Linked DNA regions of Homo sapiens: region 1 is linked to region 2. The links are contacts of gene promoters, found by promoter capture Hi-C in human tissues and cell types (Jung and others, 2019). All regions are on one chromosome and are shown on one strand. The core of a region is centred on a gene start or on the middle of the fragment in contact, and the rest is flanking DNA. Distances in the headings are between cores, read along the strand shown. Region 1 overlaps SHROOM2 (shroom family member 2). Region 2 holds the start of CLCN4 (chloride voltage-gated channel 4).

The links. The method cuts DNA at HindIII sites, captures the fragments that hold promoters and counts their contacts. A contact is called where the count stands out against the background at its distance.
Region 1: a contact is called between a fragment that was not itself captured here and the fragment with the promoter of CLCN4 in region 2, in 2 of the 25 tissues and cell types used here (IMR-90 fibroblasts and dorsolateral prefrontal cortex).

Annotation. Positions count from the first base shown.
Region 1 is chrX:9,891,274-9,894,130 of GRCh38, reverse strand. The region is part of intron 3 of SHROOM2 (shroom family member 2); the gene reads right to left. Among named protein-coding and RNA genes, the nearest start is that of CLDN34, 75 kb to the left of the region's middle. The HindIII fragment of the contact is 5,546 bases long and covers 1-2,857 here.
Region 2 is chrX:10,155,023-10,158,569 of GRCh38, reverse strand. CLCN4 (chloride voltage-gated channel 4) reads right to left here and starts at 1,595. Exons shown (of 13, transcript NM_001830.4): 1 at 1,470-1,595; 2 at 19-281. The HindIII fragment of the contact is 5,415 bases long and covers 1-3,547 here.

The DNA of each region.
Region 1 (2,857 bases), core at 337-2,836, 260 kb after region 2:
TGGCTTTTACCAAACAGATGCCTTGCAACCCTAGCGCACATTCTCAGCCTGATGCCCGGATCGTTGGCAGGCAACGTCTGCATTTACACGTCTATGGTCAATCAACAGTTAAGCGCAGGGGTGGCCACACCACAACTCAGGTTGTTGTTGTTGTTGATTTTGGTTTTTTTTTTTTTTTTGAGACAGTCTCACTCTGTCGCCTAGGCTGGAGTGCAGACGCGTGATCTCAGCTCACTGCAACCTTCGCCTCCTGGGTTCAAGCGATTCTCCTGCCTCAGCCTCCCGAGTAGCTGGGATTATAGGTGCCTGCCACTGTGCCCGGCTAATTTTGTTGTATTTTTAGTAGAGACGGGGTTTCACCATGTTGGCCAGGCTGGTCTCGAATTCCTGACCTCAAGTGATCTGCCTGCCTCGGCCTCCCAAAGTGCTGGGATTACAGATATGAGCCACCGCACCCAGCCCAAATGGTTTTTATATGTTTTATGGTGGGAGAAGAGGCATACTATTTCTCCTATTTCACCTGTGAAAATGATATGAAATTCAAATTTCAGTTCATACATGAAGCTTTACTGGAACCCAACTGTGCCCATGTGTCTGCGTAGTGTCTGTGGCTGCTCTTGGGCTATAATGAAAGAGCTGAGTAACTGCAACAGAGATGTGCGGCCTGCAAAGCCAAAAGCATTTACTAGCTAGCCTGTTACAGACCAGGTTTGGTGGCTCACACCTGAAATCCCAGTGCTTTGAGACGCTAAGGCAGGAGGATCACTTGAGGCTGGAGGATCACTTGAGGCCAGGAGTTTGAGACCAGCCTTACTTAGCAATATAGTGAGACCCCCATCTCTATAAAAACTTTTTAAAAAATTAGCTGGATGTGGTGGTGCATGCCTGTAGTCCCAGCTACTTGGGAGGCTGAGGTGGGAAGATGGCTTGAGCCTGGGAGGTTGAGGCTGCAGTGAGCTGTGACTGCGCCACTGCACTCCAGCCTGGGCAATGGAGTAAAACCCTGTTTCAAAGATAATAATAATAATAATAATATCACACACTGCTGTGTTCAGCTTTCAGCTAACTGGTTATACCCTACAGAGTTATTGACACTCACACCAAAAAACACAGGCTCCTAAACAGGATGGTGTCTAAGAGGATGAAATTGACGGTGAGTTGACACATTGATTCCTCTGTAAGGTAATAACTGTGTGTGACTGAGAGCTCTCAATGGTGAAACTATTTATCCAGGATGTTAAGTGCTTTCTTTAAAGCTCAACAAAGCTGAGATGTTCACCCTTCAACAGGAAGAAGCTGTGGCTCCACTAGGTTGGGGGAGAGTGAGGATGAGAGAACCGTGTGACCAGGACAGAACACTGGAGAACAACTGGCTGTCATCTATGGGAGGGAGAGGACTGTTTGGGTTTCCCACCCATCTTCTGTAAGAACAGACCACGTATCCTCAAACCCGGGGCATGCTCCTGACTACCCACCAGTATTCTGGAAGGGACTTTTCTGTGAGATCCCAAGTCCAAGCAGATCTAGAGAACTCTGAGCACTGTTTCCACACAGATGTGGGCAGTGTGCATGTTTCTTTCATCAAGAGACTGCCAAATGGGCTTAATGGAGATCTCATCACCTTAAGTCACTTCAGGAATAAAATAAAAGGCCCACTGTTCACTTAAGTGTTACTACTCAGTTGAGAATCTGTGGCTTTTTGTTTTTTTGTGTTTTTTTTTTCCCCAAAAAATACACTGGGCTCTAAATACCATCATCTTTTGTCACTTTAGGGGTAATGTTATATTTCAGTTGTCTTTCCTTCGTGTCATATAAATCTTTACCTTGCAATTTTACAGACCAGTATTTTTTTTTCTTTTCTTTTTTTTTTTTTTTTAAGAGACGAGGTCTTGCTCTGTTGCCCAGACTGGAGTGCGGTGCTGCAATCATAGCTCACTGCAGCCTCGAACTCCTGGGCTTCAGTGATCCTACTGCCTCAGTCTCCTGAGTAGCTGGGACTACAGGTGTGCACACAATGCCCAGCTAATTTTCTTTTATTTTTAATAGAGATGGGGTCTTGCTGTGTTGTCCCGGGTGGTCTTGAACTCAAACAATCTTCCCACCTTAGCTTCCCAAAGTGTTGGGATTACAGACATGAACCATTGCGCCCAGCCAAGACCAGCATTTATTAACAGCCAAAAACTGAGTGGTTACATTAGCTCCAAACACAGACACATACCTGCGTGTGCACGCACGCGCACACACACACACACACACACACACCAAACATGCTCACTGATACTCACACACTCACATACACATATACATGTGCACACACATGCACATACAAGCAAAGAGATGCACAGGCACACATACAGGCACACACGAACAGACACATGAACACTCATACACATACAAAGACACACACACACAAACGTGTAGAAATACACATGCACACTCACACCCCCCCACACACTCACACCCGTAAACATACACAGATACACACACACACTCACGCAAGCAGGGAGACATCCACACACGCACACCAAAAGCAGACTATCTGCTGTTACCGCCATCCTCTTAACAGGAGACTAGTGAGGATACTGCCACTAACTCCAAGAGGGTTGAGGAGAGGCTACCAAAGCTTAAAGAACCTCTTGGGAGCTTTTACAAGATATACCTGCCACCCCATATATATCTCCTGCCTTCCAGTCCATGTGTAAAACCCTGGAAAGGAGAGGGGTGCCGTGGATGCCACCCCACCGGCTCAGAACCCTACTGCCTGGCATCCCACCTGGCCAATCCCAAAGAAGCTTGGCTGAAACCCAAGTCCTATGCTCCCCTTCTTGCTCATGCCTTGTCTTGCCATTTCATTTTG
Region 2 (3,547 bases), core at 346-2,845:
GCGCCGCGCGCCCCTTACCTGCAGTGCCGCATCGCGCCCGCGGCCGCCCACCTGGACAGCATCCTCGAGCATCCTTTCTTCAGCGCGACGGCTGCGAGCGCCGTGACATCACCAGGAGGCGGGCCCCACGCTGCCACGTGACGCCCTCGGGGCGAGGCAGGGAGGTGTGCGCGGGGTGGGGGGAAGACCCTGGAAGTCCCGGGAGGTGAGGGTCGATGGCCAGAAACCCTCGCGCTGGCCGCCCCTCAGGCGTTTCGCTTGATGTGTGCAGCTTGCCTGGCCTTTCGCGAAGAATTATGAAAAACAACACACAGGAGGAGAAATCCAAATTATTACAGGCTCCAAGCGAGTAATAGGATTTCAAAAGAATTAGCAATAAAGGGATTACAGTGAAAGGAAATACAATTTCATGTTTTATTTTAAAACTAGTATTTATCAAATGCAGTGGAGAAATAAACATTTTGTGCAAATCAAAATGACACAAAATATAGCATGGACATACTTTGCCTAGAGTTTCTATGTTTCAAGCCGTATATCGAGTATTATACCAAACACTTTAGTTCAAAGCAATTCATTATGGAACATTATACTAATTGCACGGATGAATAATGCTTTAATTACTCTGAATAGCTGCATTCCAATATTAATTTGTATTTGCCAAAGGAAAAAATGGTGACACCACGTATTTCTACTACTTACTTAAATATGTGATGATTTAAAATAAAGCACTGCTACGTGAGCATGGTTGTATTTGTGTCTCTGTTTTCTTACATCTTCTGGCAAGGCATTTAATCTCTGAGACATGACTTAATTCACAATAACTCATTATTTCACATTTTCTAATCTTTATCACATTCTGAAGAAGTGAGTCATTTTACTATCACAGAAAATATGTACAATGTCAACATTTCTCATTCACAACTGAAACAGCCTTGCCTAGAAAGACTTTAGAAAATTACAACTGTGATAATTTTGTAAATTTGAAATAGCGTATTTCAAACTTAAGCAGTGCACATATAAACTTTTCTTTTGCCAAAATACACAAGCGTTTTTGAAATGTAAAAGGACAAAAGCAAAGACTGCTTTTATTTGTATTCCAATTGCAAATAGATTCATTTACTTTCACTTGAGTTAAAAATCACAATTTTAACATTCCCTTTGCTCACAGCCCTGAAGGAGACATGAAATAGATTGTTTTACAAGCAGGCTAGAGTTAAGTTTACTTGCAGTTTATTCCATCAGCTTTCGTGTCCTTCTATATTTAACCCTGGCCCTTATACCGTGATTCCCTCCAAATTAACCAAATTTCTGTTCAGAAGGTTAATCTCTAATTTGGGGATAAATACAGCCCTTGACTCTCACAGCGATCAATTATTTTCAACACCAGATTTTAAAAATCAACAAAGTCGCAGTGTACTTTACTAGGTCACTCCTCTCAAATTTGTTTTTCTGAGTGATAAGCAGCTTACCTTCCGCTTTCAGATTCTGAGATAAAGTTAAAACGCTACCGAAATCTCCTGCTCCTTTGGGTTGAGGGTCTAATGGAGGCAGAAACTGACAAGCTCATTTTCCTGCCAGAGGCAAATGTCGATTTCAGCCCGGAGGGCCCCGGAGGCCGGCTGGGAGCATCACGTGCTCGGCCCAGCCACTCAGCCCTGCCCAGCCAGCCTGGTCACCTCTTGGCTCCGGAGCCCCGCCGTGCCAGTGTCATTCGCCTCCTACCCCCGGAGCATTCGTGTCCAGAGAAAACCCGGCGTCCCGGAGACAGGACGCCCCACCCTCAGGGGCTGGGCTGCACGGAATTCTGTGACCGGATTTTCCAGCATCAATGGGAGGTGGTGGGTATACAAAATGCCCTGCAGCCTGAAGAGGATGGTAGCACGGTGCAGACAGCCTTGCTCCGTATTCCGGCTTGGCTGAAATGACGAAATACAGGCAACCTTCTTCATCCTGGAGCAGTTTTTTTGCAGTAGGTTAGTTTCACCTTCTCTTTTTTCTAGGTGATTGCTCAATTGTAAAAAACATTGCAGCAAACCGGCAATTCAGACAAGGCCCAGAACTGGGCCAAGCAATTCTCAACAGAATGAGAGAGCTGTCTGAACACCCTCCACCCTCGCCTTTCAAATTGTCATTTTAGCCAAGATTAAAAAACAAAACCAAAAAAAGCAAAAACCAATACCACCCATGGGAATGTAAGTTGAGCAATCTTTCTGGTGGTCTGTTTAGCATTTTTCCTACCAAATGCCTTACAGATACACAGTTTCGCCAATTACTCCGGGCCCTACAGCTGTTGGTATCATGTGCTCCAGCAACTTGATGTCCAAGAATTTGTCCTGGGGTGTGGGGAGTGGGGGTGGGGGGAAGAACGGTGTGCAAACCCCTGACTAGGGAAAGTTTGCTGCAATATTACTTATGATCTCAAAGCACTGGAAACAAGTTAAATCTCCAAAAACAGGGGATGTTTTAAATTATAAGCCATCTGTGCAGTGGAAGAATTAAAACTAATACGGTGGTACACACGGATGGAAAAAGACATGTGCAGCGGATTAAATGGGAAAAAAAATGGAAGCTTCAAAGCATTATGTGCTGAGTGATCCGTCGTTTCTATGTAGGTGTAATATATTTATATCTACACATATACCTTTGCGAACACAGAAAACTATTAGGAAATGAATTCACTAAAGTATCAAACATGGTATCTCACTGGTTAGTGGGATTAAGGGTGTTTTAAATTTTTCTTCTTTTAAGCTTAGAGATATCGTCTAATTTTTCCACAGTGAATATGTATTGCTTTTATAGCAACAAAAAAATTGTTTTCTTAAAAGCACCATATAGACATGATTATGGAATAAACAAACAGTTTTGGCTAATTTTTTAATGCAGATTTCATTACTTGAAGATCCTGAATTCTTAACCACAAAGTCCCGAGGGAACAATCCCTAGCCATCCTAGATTATTCTGCTCATGAAGATCTTTAGGAAAGAAAGTGCCATTCAGGGGCCGTTGTTAATATTTAACCATCTGTATGTCCAGTTTTAATTTCTCTTCCATTTAAACCTACTTCTTTTTACTTTGCTCTGTGTGGAGATAGAAAGCTGGTTATTACCATCCTTCATGAAAAGATTCTTTCAATAGTTACGGAATAATAACCTTTGAGTTTTTTGTTCATTCGAGACAGGGTCTCACCCTGTCTCCCAGGCTGGAGTGCAGTGGCACGATCATGGCTCACTGCAACCTCAAATTCCTGGGCTCAAGCAATCCTCCTGCCTCAGCCTCCCAAGTAACTGGGACTACAGGCTCTTTCCATTGTCTTCACAGATTTCTCTTTCCTATCCCTTTGAATCTTCTACATTTTTTCTCTTATCTGCCAGTTTTCTACAGATGTCATACAAGGTTTAGAACAGCGGTTCTTAATGGGGTGATGTTGCTCCCTTTCCCCCAGGGGACATTTTTGGCAGCCACAACTGAAGTGGGAGGAGCCGTGTGCTCCTGGCATTGAGTGGGTAGAGGCCAGGGCTGCTGCTGAACATCCTACAGTGCACAGGAC